Linked DNA regions of Homo sapiens: region 1 is linked to region 2. The links are contacts of gene promoters, found by promoter capture Hi-C in blood cells and fetal thymus (Javierre and others, 2016). All regions are on one chromosome and are shown on one strand. Each heading gives the region's core, a stretch centred on a gene start or on the middle of the fragment in contact. The rest is flanking DNA. Distances are from core to core; before and after follow the strand shown.

What was found. The method cuts DNA at HindIII sites, captures the fragments that hold promoters and counts their contacts. A CHiCAGO score of 5 or more calls a contact.
Region 1: a contact is called between a fragment that was not itself captured here and the fragment with the promoter of LYAR in region 2, in 1 of 17 cell types (naive B cells). The highest score is 5.2, in naive B cells.

Annotation. Positions count from the first base shown.
Region 1 is chr4:5,821,803-5,827,495 of GRCh38, forward strand. It overlaps CRMP1 (collapsin response mediator protein 1), which reads right to left. Exons shown (of 14, transcript NM_001014809.3): 13 at 3,692-3,857; 14 at 1-49. It also overlaps a transcript of EVC not described here. Among named protein-coding and RNA genes, the nearest start is that of CRMP1, 68 kb to the right of the region's middle. The HindIII fragment of the contact is 5,333 bases long and covers 1-4,347 here.
Region 2 is chr4:4,288,015-4,293,613 of GRCh38, forward strand. LYAR (Ly1 antibody reactive) reads right to left here and starts at 2,140. Exons shown (of 10, transcript NM_017816.3): 1 at 2,022-2,140. ZBTB49 (zinc finger and BTB domain containing 49) reads left to right here and starts at 2,237. Exons shown (of 8, transcript NM_145291.4): 1 at 2,237-2,338. RefSeq lists enhancers at 89-627, 628-1,165. The HindIII fragment of the contact is 4,525 bases long and covers 183-4,707 here.

The DNA of each region.
Region 1 (5,693 bases), core at 431-2,930, 1.5 Mb after region 2:
ACGATGCGGTGGCCGGTGCGCCTGGGATTGTTGTCATCTATCTGGGCACCTGAAAGAGAGCGCCAATCGCTGCTGGATGGGATCTGTTAGCATCAGTTCCACGCTGCTCCTGGAGGCCATGTACTCTGCCATGCACTCCACTGGACCCACCTTCATTCAGGGCTCAGTCCAGGACCAGCCATGGGAAGCCTCCCTGGCCTCCACAGAGTCCACTGCTCCCTCTTCTGTGCCCCTCAGTCCCTGGGCTCCCCCCACCTTCAGCCCTGACCACCTTGTGGTGTTCTTGTCAAAATCCCCAGTAAAATCCGACATTCCTGAGACAGGTGATCAAACACTTACTGAGTGCCTACTGTGTGCAGGCGCACATTTGGTGCTTTAACATGTTACTGCATTTAGGGCACACAATCATACTATGAAGGGGGTGTTTGTACTCCCAACTTACGGGTGAGCAATTTGAGGTTCAGGCCACGTGTCTTGCGGGACACAGGTGTTGGGTGGGGAAGCCAGGATTGAAGCCCAAACTGGTTGGTTTTCAAAGCCCATGATCTTAGGCACACTGTCCCACACTCCAAAGGTATTTTACATATTGTGTGTGTACACATTTGTATATGCATGTGCATATGTGTGTGCATGTGCATGTGAACTCCGCAAGCTGGATTTACTTCCCTCATTGGCGATAGGTGGATCTGAAGGGGGGGGGGGTGGTGTGCAGAGGTTCTTAATTTTAATCTTTCAAAACCAACCATCCATTCTACTTTTACCTATTCTCTTGCATAAAGATGTAAAATTCTAGCAGCAAACCCAGTGCCTGGAGCTCAACAAATATTTATTAAATGAGTAAATCATGAAGGGTGGATAATGCTGAAAGGTGGGAAGGATAGAGTCCTTATCAGGGAGGGGAAGTTGAGCCGGCGGAACTGAGGAAAATCAAAAAGAGAAAGCAAATAAGCTGTAAGTCTGCCTTTCTTCATGGTCTACAACACAGCCTTCCTGTACTCAACTTATCACCAGATCCTCAGCTAACAGAAAAACGTAAGTAAGTTAGCTCACTGCAACCACAGCATTATCAGTACTGCACAAAGCCCTCTTCGGCACACAGCACAAGCACCATCCTATAAAATCTCCAGCAAGCCTTTGTTTCCTTGCAGTCGGCTCCTTTCTTGCTGACCTACCCACTGTACCCTTTCATACTTTTTCTAATACATCTGACTTTCTTTACCGACAACTGTCTTGGTGAATTTTTTTTACTAGCTGCAGAACACTGGCCCCAGGTAGTTGTCACCTGCAACAGGAAGGAGACTCAAGTTTCAGTGCTAATCATGCCTTGAATTTGGGCAATTTGGAGTAAGACACCACCCCACTCCCTTGGCCTCATTTCCTTTTCTGCACAATAAGAACAGTAGACTAGATGAGCCCCTTCCAACTCCAACATTACATGATTTGTCTATGTAAGCCACTAAGAATTTGGTTCACAGTAGTGACTTTTCTTTTCTCCCATTGTTTCACTGGTAGACAATATGTCTTCTTGCAATACAAGTCTCCCCTAAAGGCCTGGAATCAGGCCTAGCACTTAGTAACTTTTTCCTTACAACCATCTGTACCTTGCTGGTTGCATGTCTGTACTTTGAAAATACCTGCTGGAAAAAAGGACACTAATATGGTTTGGACTTTTGTCCCCCAAAACTTCGTGTTGAAATTTGATCCCAAAGTTGGAGGTGGGGCCTAATGGGAGGGGTTTGGGTCATGAAGGACAGACCACTCATGAATGGCTTGGTGTCAGCCTTACAGTAATGAGTAAATTCTTGCTCTATTAGCTCTCGGAAGAACTGGTTGTTAAAGAGCACCTCTGCCTTCTTCCTCTGTTGCCATGTGATCTCTGCACACGCTAGCTCTCCTTCGCCTTCTGCCATGCTGGAAGTAGCCTGAGGCCCTCACCAGAAGCAGACGCTGGCACCGTGCTGCTTGTACAGCCTGCAGAGCCGTGAGCCAAGTAAACCTCTTTAATTACCCAGCCTCAGGTAATCCTTTATAGCAATGTAAATGGACGAAAACAGACACTAACTCATGGTACAGCTCTATAACGTAACATACGCAGATATTAAAAAGGGCATCTGTGAGGTTGTTATGATGTTGGAAAGCATCTGTGTTGTTGGTACCAAATGAAGTCACCTATCAACCTGCCAAGAGGCTGGCTGACAGCAGTGGTGCTGTGGGCCTCAGGAGGACTAAGAGTGAAACTGAGAGAACAAGGGTGAGGAGGGGCCCTTCCAGGTGGCTTTTAACTTCATTGTTATTCTTGTTCTAAGAACAACGGGGAGGAGGATTTTCTGTCCATGTTTAATTGCAATTGTGCAGTGTTTAATTGCATAACTCCAGAACAGTGGTCCAGTTTGCAAACTCCTTGAGAGCTTGTGTCTTGTTGCACCCAGATAGCTTTTTCCCAGGATGAAGCCAATCCCTGGTTTGCTGATTGAGCATCACATGACTTTTAGCATTCTATTTAGGGTCCATTTTGTGCAAAAATATGAAACACTGGAAGCTCTTCCATCAAAGTCTTATGGAGAGTGAGATGAATGGGGAGGCCTCCTTGATTCATGCCTCCTCGGCATAATCACTGAATCAGACACTTCCTGAATGGATAAGAGGTTCTGCCACCACACAATCTGAATTCACACGTCATCCTCTCTCTCTCTCTCTCTTTGCCCCTTCCACTCTCTCTTTTGCTAAGCATATCGCCTTTCCTGACCAGGAATTAGCAAACGGGTCCATTGACCAAATCCGGCCCACCGCCTGTTTCTGTACGATCCATGACCTGAGAATAGTTTGTACATTTTCAAATGGCTATTGAATATAACATCCTAGATGTTGACATCCTAGATGTTGCCTCTTAGCTTACAAAGCCTAAAGTATTTACTATCCGGCCTTCTAAGAAAAAAAATCACCATACTCTTAGTACCCAGCACGGTGTGCAACCCATGCAACGCCTCAAAGAGTTTGCAGGACAAAATTCCAGTTCAACTTTCTCAACGTGTGCGTGCCTGCCCTCATGTGGCCATCTCACCAAATCACAGATACACTGCCCTGAGACCTTAAGAAAGTCAGGAGGGATCAGGTCAACATCTAATTTTGTTCCCACACATTTGTTGAGCACCAAGTCCTGGTATTTTGACACTGGATTTCTTGGGGCTTCCGTTTCCTCTTTAAATAAATAGGGTATAATGTTACTTTATGGAGTAGTGAGGATAAAATAAAATCATGGGTTATGAAAGTGCTTAGTACACTGCAGTGGGTGAACAGGCTAAAGACTTACACAGAGCACATGCCCTGCAAATGGCAGCTACTCCCATCTCTTGTTCATCCCCACCACTCCATGTTTACTTTCATGAGGAAGAGTGTGAAAGTGTCCCCAAATGTGTGTAAGGATGAGCACTGGGACAATTTTGGTACCTCTCTTTGTAAACCCACATCAGGTACCACCATGTTGCCCCCCTAACATGGACCCCCCTCTGCTTGGTGACCATGCCAGCCCACTCTGCCCCACCAGTGAGAGCAGGCTCGGGTGGGGCACACTCCCTTCCCTGCTTCTTCATCTAGTGTCCAAGGCCACGTGTCCATTTCCTCAGAAGCAGCAGGAAGGACTCGGCCTGAACTGCTGCAATTGTGGGGAGCCTGGGCCACCACTCTTTCCTACCTGATAAGCTGAAGTTGGACTGGTGGAGGTTTCTGATGGGTGGGGGCTGGTGTTTAGAAGGCGAAGATTTGGCTGAAGGAGCGGGAGTTGCATATTTGGGTGTAGCTGGTACCTCGTACACAGGACCGTCATACATGCCCCTGGAAACCCCTTGCAATCCAAAAACCTAAACAGAGGAAGGGAGAGTGTGATTGATCGACACTGTGCATGTGTGCCCTTCTGGGCAGATAAAGCAGAGCCCTGCGGGCGAGAGAGAAACCTGAGGTCACTTCAAATGTGCATGCACACACACACACAACACGCACACACGACAGGTGCACTTCACACACATGCAGCCGCACACAGGCATTCATACACACAAGCATGCATACACACACATCTACATACCCACATGCATACACATACAGACGCACACACCACGCACACGCACTCACATACATGCAGTCATGCACACATATATGCATGCACATGCAGTAACAAAACAGGCCTACACAGTAGCATACACGCGTGAACACGCACACACACTTAAATCACATACAGATCTTCACAAAGGCATACTCACATATGTATACACATGCATACATGCCCACACACACACTCATACAGGTATACACACCCATATATACACTTACACACACGCATACTCATACACACAAAGCTTCATGCAGGAGGACCCCAAATCCCTTCCAAAGAGAAGTCACTTTGCCTGACACTACCACCTACCCACCCCCGGAAAGGACCCCTGAGTCCCAGACAAGGCAGCAGCAACGGGCCCATCTTCATGTATGTTCTTGTAGAAGTCAACAGCGAGGCAAAGATTCGGGGGGCAGATAGTTTGTTGGGAGATGGTTCCAGAAAGGGGGAAGGAGTGGGGAGCTGAGACAGGGAGGGAGAAAACTCAGTACAGAGGGACAAGGAGTGGGCCAGGTCTATGGGGGGCAGGGCTGGGGATGCTGTGGGGAGGACACCTCCACACCAGCCTGCAGGAGGACGAGGAAGGAGGGCAATGGAGCCACAGCCCTAGCCCCACTGGGAAAGGGTTGTGGGGGCAGAGACCCTGAAAGCAGCAGGGCTTCCAGGCAGGAGGCTGTCAGCCTGCTGGGAACTGCTGACAGCAGCCCAGGTGACCTCAGGGATGGCCAAGGTTGGGAGGGCACCTGCTCCAGGCACTGGAGAACAGCATGTGTTCAGGGACCTGTACAGGGTCCCAGCATGAGTCAGTGGCAGTGCCCTAACCCAACACGGGGCTTCATCCTCCATATCAGGTGACAGTGCCCTGACCCCAGGCCTGGCTCCCTCCTTCTCTGCAGGTGATAGCACCCTGACCCCCAGCTCTGGGCTCCTGTCTCTCCATAGGAGGAAGCCTTAATTTTAGCACCAAGTTTAAAGACCCAGCACCTGCACATCATGTCAACGGCCCTCCCCTCTGTCCCTGGAGCCCTGCTCCCCGACTCCCTGGGCCTCACTGTATCCTGTGCATTCTCTGTGGCTGTGGCATTGCTTCCTGGGTGAGGCCGTTCATCACTCCCTGAAGCTCAGGTGGCCAGAGGCAGGCTCTGATGCAGGTCTCTCCTTCACCTGGTCTAGCTCCTGCAGGCATGAAGGAATCCCTGTGCAATGGGACCCCCCGATCCTATTGCTCCTGCAAATTGCTGTCTTGGCATTTGGGGTCAGATATCTGCCCTCACGGAAGCTGACTGTTAACCGCAGGCCTCAGCTTCAGACCAAGAAGGAAATGAAGCCAGCCAAGGGGTGTGTCTGCCTCTTCAGTGGGTGTCCCAGCCAGGGATTTCCATGAGTCCCCTTGTCCTCATATGGCCTGCTGCCTGTGCCTGGCCTTGTCTCGGATCTGACTTGTTTCCACCCCATCCCTTGTTTCCCCATCCAGTGCAAAGCATCTGTGCGACTTGGTGTCTTTGACCTGGTGCTACACCTTATGGAAGCTGGGGAGAGACCAAAACCAGATGCAGAGCCTCCCAGTCCGGGCTGGAGCCTGGGAATG
Region 2 (5,599 bases), core at 890-3,389:
GGGCCCTGACTCAGGTGTAGAGGATCTGAGCTGGAGCCTACATCTGCTAATGTCAAAAAAGTCATTAAAAACTAAATGACCTCAAAGCACCTTAACTTCCCAGAATCTGTTTATCTGTAAAATGGATCTAATACCTAACTCAAAGCATTGGGTGGAAAGTTAAATAAGACACCAGATATGAAAGCTTCATCCCTGCCCAATTGTAGAAAGGTTTCTCTGTGACCTACTAATTTGCACATCAATGCTATTATACCCAGCCCCCTCCTAAACCCATGCTCCTTTAAATATGACCATCAACCCACCCATTTATGTTCATAAATTCACTCCAACCTTCTCTGGCTCCTCACCCCATGGCTGCCTACTTTACCAAGTTCCCTGATAACATGCCCTTAGGTTTGGTTCTGAGATTGGAATGATTTTTTTTAAATCTTCTTCCCTCTATATTTTTGTATTACTTATTCAATTTTTTTTCTTTTTTTTTTTTTTTTTGAGACGGAGTCTCATTCTGTTGCCCAGGCTGGAGTACAATGGCGCAATCTCGGCTCACTGCAGCCTTTGCCTCCCAGGTTCAAGTGATTCTCCGGCCTCAGCCTCCCCAGTAGCTGGGATTACAGGCACATGCCACCATGCCCGGCTAATTTTTGTATTTTTAGTAGAGACGGAGTTTCACCATGTTGGCCAGGCTGGTTGTGAACTCTTGACCTCAGGTGATCCACCCTCCTCGGCCTCCCAAAGTGCTCGGATGACAGGCACGGGCCACTGCGCTTGGCCTTGACTATTCTTAAAATATTCTTGCATGCACATGCAGACACTGACCTACACATCATTACCACCACTACCACTCAAACAGCCCACCTGAGGGGCCTAGCTGGCAACCCCAGGATATCCCCCACTGAACACTGTGACCCTGAGCATGCCACTGCCTCTATAAACTTCAAGTTATCTCATCTGTGAAACAAGAAGTCAGGCCAACTTGACAAGACTCAAGCCCCTTCCACGGGTAGCATTCTGAGAAACCATGGGTATGGTGCAAGAGAAGGACAGACAAACATACTCTGTCCACCATCCTGCCTAAACCTTTGTGTATGAGGCTGACAAGGGTTACAATGGGTGACATTCACAAGGAGAGAATCTCTCCCTTGTTCCTTGCAAAAGCCCTGGGAAGTAGGTGCACCTATCTCCACTAAACAGATGAGCAAACTGAGGCACAGAAGCCATTTCTCTCTGCCTCCTACCCCACCCACGGCATCACCAGCACTGTTTTAAACACCATCCCTTCACTCGAGTAACTACCATGTGTCAGGCACTATGCTAGACCCTGGGAGCCTCGGGCACAGTGTGAGTAAGTCCCAAGTGGGCCCTCTCTGCTAGAAATCAGGGTTGCAAATACAGACCCCACCTCATCCTCCTCCCTCTCTCCTCAGAGGTAGGTGCTTCAGAGAATCCTAACATTCATGGAGCACCCAAGCCCTCTCATAGGAGGTTAACACATTTCTACTCATGTAATCCTCATCACAGTTCTCCGAGTTAGATTCTATATGTTATGACAGATGAGGAAAGTGAGGCGCAAAGAGGTTAAAAAACTTACACCAGGTCATCCCACATCCAGGTAGTGGCAACCCAGATTCACACGCAGTAGTTATTCTGATCCTAAGTATGTGCTCTGGACCGCTACATCCTAAGGCCTCCTCTTTAGGGACTGATCTCCCAAGGCTCAGAGAAGAGCCCTGTCTCCAACATGCAGCAAGCCTGAAGCCCAGTCGGGCGGTGACCAATCGTCCTGGTTTGGCCAGGCCCGAGGGAGTTCCCAGGACGCCGGACCTTAAGTTTTAAAACTAAAACGAGTTGGTCACCCTAAGTCCAGGACTCCTGCCACTTCCCCAGAGCAGGAGTGAGATCTGAATGGAACTCCTTCCTCCATGCGTAACCCAGAGGGGCTGACGGTGGAAATCCCGTCCCTCCCCTACTCACTCTCTGAGCCCCAGCCTCCCAGGTCGGACCTCTGGGCCACCACCCCTCACCTCTCAGCCAGCGCCCGCCAACGGTTTCAACCGGCCGCGGGGAGCACGTGGACTCGCCGCCGCCAGCCCAGCGCCGCAGCTACCTGCCTCTCAGGCTTCGCGGTGCAGAATTCGCTTCTGAACCACCCAGCGCGCCTGCGCACCGCGGCCACGCCCCCCCCAGTGGAAGTGACGCCAACGGAAGCAGGAAGGCGGTTCCGGCAAGCCAAGGGGGCGTTGTCGTGATGATTCCGCGGCCAGCGGATCGCTGCGAGTGGCCTTGAAGGCAGCTGCTGCAGGTGAAGAGTAGGCGGCGGGGCAGAGAGCGGCCTCCGAGGGTAAGGTGGCCGGCCTTGCGAAGGCGTGCGGGGCTGGCGCTGGTGGGAATGGCCCGGAAGGGAAGGGAGGCCGGGCGCCCGAAGGTGGCCCAGAAGGGCATGGACCCACCGCTCCTTCCCGTCTCTGGGCACTCGAGGATACCCGGGGGGTTGGCGGCTCCTGCGAGAGTCAGCGAGCATTTGCTCTGTGCCGGGCATCACAGGGGACGCGGACTGAGACCCAGACGGCCAGGTTCCGGGCCTGGGAGCCGGGCCTTCTCCCTGGTGCAGCTTCCTCGGCCTGGAAACCCCACCCGCGCCCTCTCATCTCCAGGCTTTGCCCGCTGGAAGCCAGCCCGGCCCGCCTCCGCTACGCGCTGCCCATCTCTCGGCTTCTGTTTCCTTCCACGCTGTAGTTGAGAGTAGCGCTTAAGACGACAGAGCCCACAGCCTAGCTCAGTTTCATTACGGTGTGGCCTCTTTGTGCCTCAGCCCCGCATCTGTAAAGCGAATGTCATAGCGGCACCTGCGTCCCTGGAACCTTGTCGTATTTCATGAGTTGGTGCATGTAAATCGCTTAGACTAGTGGCTGCCACTTAGTAAGTACTCAATAAACGTTAGCTCTTCTCAGCCCTTAAAACAGGGTCTGGCACACAGTGGTGGTCACTAGGTGTTTGTTGCTTAAATGAATGAATGAAAGTTGAGTGGAGGATGCACAGAGTATTGTGAGAAACCTTCACTCCCAAGGTGTGTGTATATGGGTGATAAGGTTTCACTCTGAAAGTGAGCAGTGTTGGGCCTGGAATAGAAGGTGTATTAGTTTGCTAGGACTGCAAACAAAATACTGGGTGGCTTAAACAACAGAAATTTATTATTTTCTCACAGTTCTGGAGGTTAGAAGTCCAAGATCAAGGTGTCTTCAGGTTTGGTTTCTTCTGAGACATTTCTCCTTGGCTTGCACGTGGCTGCTTTCTTGCTGTGTCCTCGCATGGTCTTTCCTCTGTGTTTTCACATCTCTGGCGTCTCTCTTTGCATCCAGATTTCCTCTTTATGAGAACGTCAGTCAGGTTGTATTAGGGCCCACCTTAATGGCCTCATTTTAACTTAATTACCTTCTTACAAGCCTGATCTCCAAATACAATCACATTCTGGAGTGCTGGGGGAACAGTTTAACCATAACAGAAGGAATTCACAGAAATGGACAAGGAGGGAAATACTTTCCAACAGAAGTGACAGAATGGCCAGGAGGCTTAAAAGCAGGGTGCTCAAGATGTTTTTTGTGTTCAGGGCACATATGTGTACTTCAGTCTTGTTTGTGCTCTCGTACTGTTTTTGGGTTTGGTTGTTGTTGTTTGTTTGTTTGTCCTCCTGAATACTCAAAGAAAGTGAGCCCTCTCATTTTTTTAGTCTGGCAAACTTAACTCACATTTCAGCATAGATGTGTCTTCCAGGAAGTTTTCCCTGACCCTCCCTCCCAAATTAATTTCTGCTTCCTCCATTTAATAACTTTGGTACAGGGCTGGGTGCGGTGGCTCACGCCTGTAATCCCAGCGCTTTGGGAGGCCGAGGCAGGCAGCTCCTGAGGTCAAGAGATAGAGACCAGCCTGGCCAACATGGTGAAACCCTGTAAACCCCATCTCTACTAAGAGTACCAAAATTAGGCGGGTGTGGTGGCGCATGCCTGTAATCCCAGCACTTTGGGAGGCTGAGGCGAGTGGATCATTTGAGGTCAGGAGTTTGACACCAGCCTGGCCAACATGGTGAGACCCCCACCCCTCGTCCTTACTAAAAATACAAAAATTAGCTGGGTGTGGTGGTGCATGCCTGTAATCCCAGCTACTCGGGAGGCTGAGGCAGAAGAATCGCTTGAACCCAGGAGGTGGAGGTTGCACTGAGCCGAAAGCACACCACTCCACTCCAGCCTGGTCAACTGAGCAAGACTGCGTCTCGGAAAAAAATAAAAAATAACTCTGGTACAGTGCAACGATACTTGTTTTTCCCACTAGACTGATGCTTCATGAAGACATGGATGACCGTATCTGATGTGTTTGCCATCGTACCTTCAGTGCCTAGCGCATAATGGGCATTGTGTAAAGTTAAGTGAATGATGGAAAACTGAGACACAGAGCCTGTGAAGAGTAGGGAACACATCTGTTCCGTTTGTCAGCATTCCATCCTCGCGACAATCTGTTGCACATGTTAGGCACACAGTATCTGTTTAACCCAATTGGCCTTCCCAGTATGATAAGAGTCAGCATAAAGCTAAGACAAGATTCCAGGTTTGTTGCTTCAAGCCAGTGCTTTTATGAGTAGGGTGGAGGTGAGGAGCTACAAGTAAGCCATTTGGAAAGTATGATGATGGGCAGACTCCTTAGGAGCCCTCTGAGGTAAGCTTGACTTTAAGGTGCGTGAACTGTGGGCCCTTGGAGAAGTAATCTATTAATGGCACTGCTGAAAAAACATCCACAAATTCTATCCAGTAGTATTTGACCTGTTGGTAGAATTGAGGGGCCTTTGCTCTAGGAGTCCTCTCTGCAGGTTGAAATTCCATTCTGGCTGTTGTTTTCTTTAGAAGCATTTCTTCATTCACATTGATCTAAACTTTTTCTTGTTTCTTTTCCCCCCATATTTTCATTTTTTGACGCCATTCATACCATCTTTCCACCATCACATTCCTTGTATAGATTTGTAGCTTTTAGAACTAGGAAAAAACCTCTAAAAGAGATCATCTAGTCCAATAGGGGACCTCTCCATTTTTATAGATGAAAAACTGAGGCCCAGAGTCTCATCCATCCAGAAATATGTATTGAGTGCCTATTATGTCAAAGACACTCTGCTAGGCACCAGAGATACATTGTTCAATAAGACAGATGGAGTCCATGTCTTCACCACAGAAAATTTTTACTGCTTGTCACTAGGTGAGTTAGTCGCAAAGATGGAAGAGAACCTTCTGCTCCTTCTCTCACGCTATAACACCTTGTGTAGCACATCTTAGTCCTGAATTGTGCAGTTCCTTAATGCAAAGCTTGTCTGTGGGATTACCTGGACAATCAGGCATAGGCAGTAGACTGAAGAGGCAGCTGATTCCGATCAAAGGAAACAGTGGTTATGAATGCGGCTTTGGTGTCAGATTCCCTGGCTCTGAATCCCACCTCTGTCCCTTATTACTTACCTATTTTTAGCTGTGTGACCATCTTCTCTGTATATGGTCAGGTTTTCTGTTGCTGTGTAACACTCTACCCCCAAATTTAGTGACTCAAAAACTATTTTATCTCATAATTC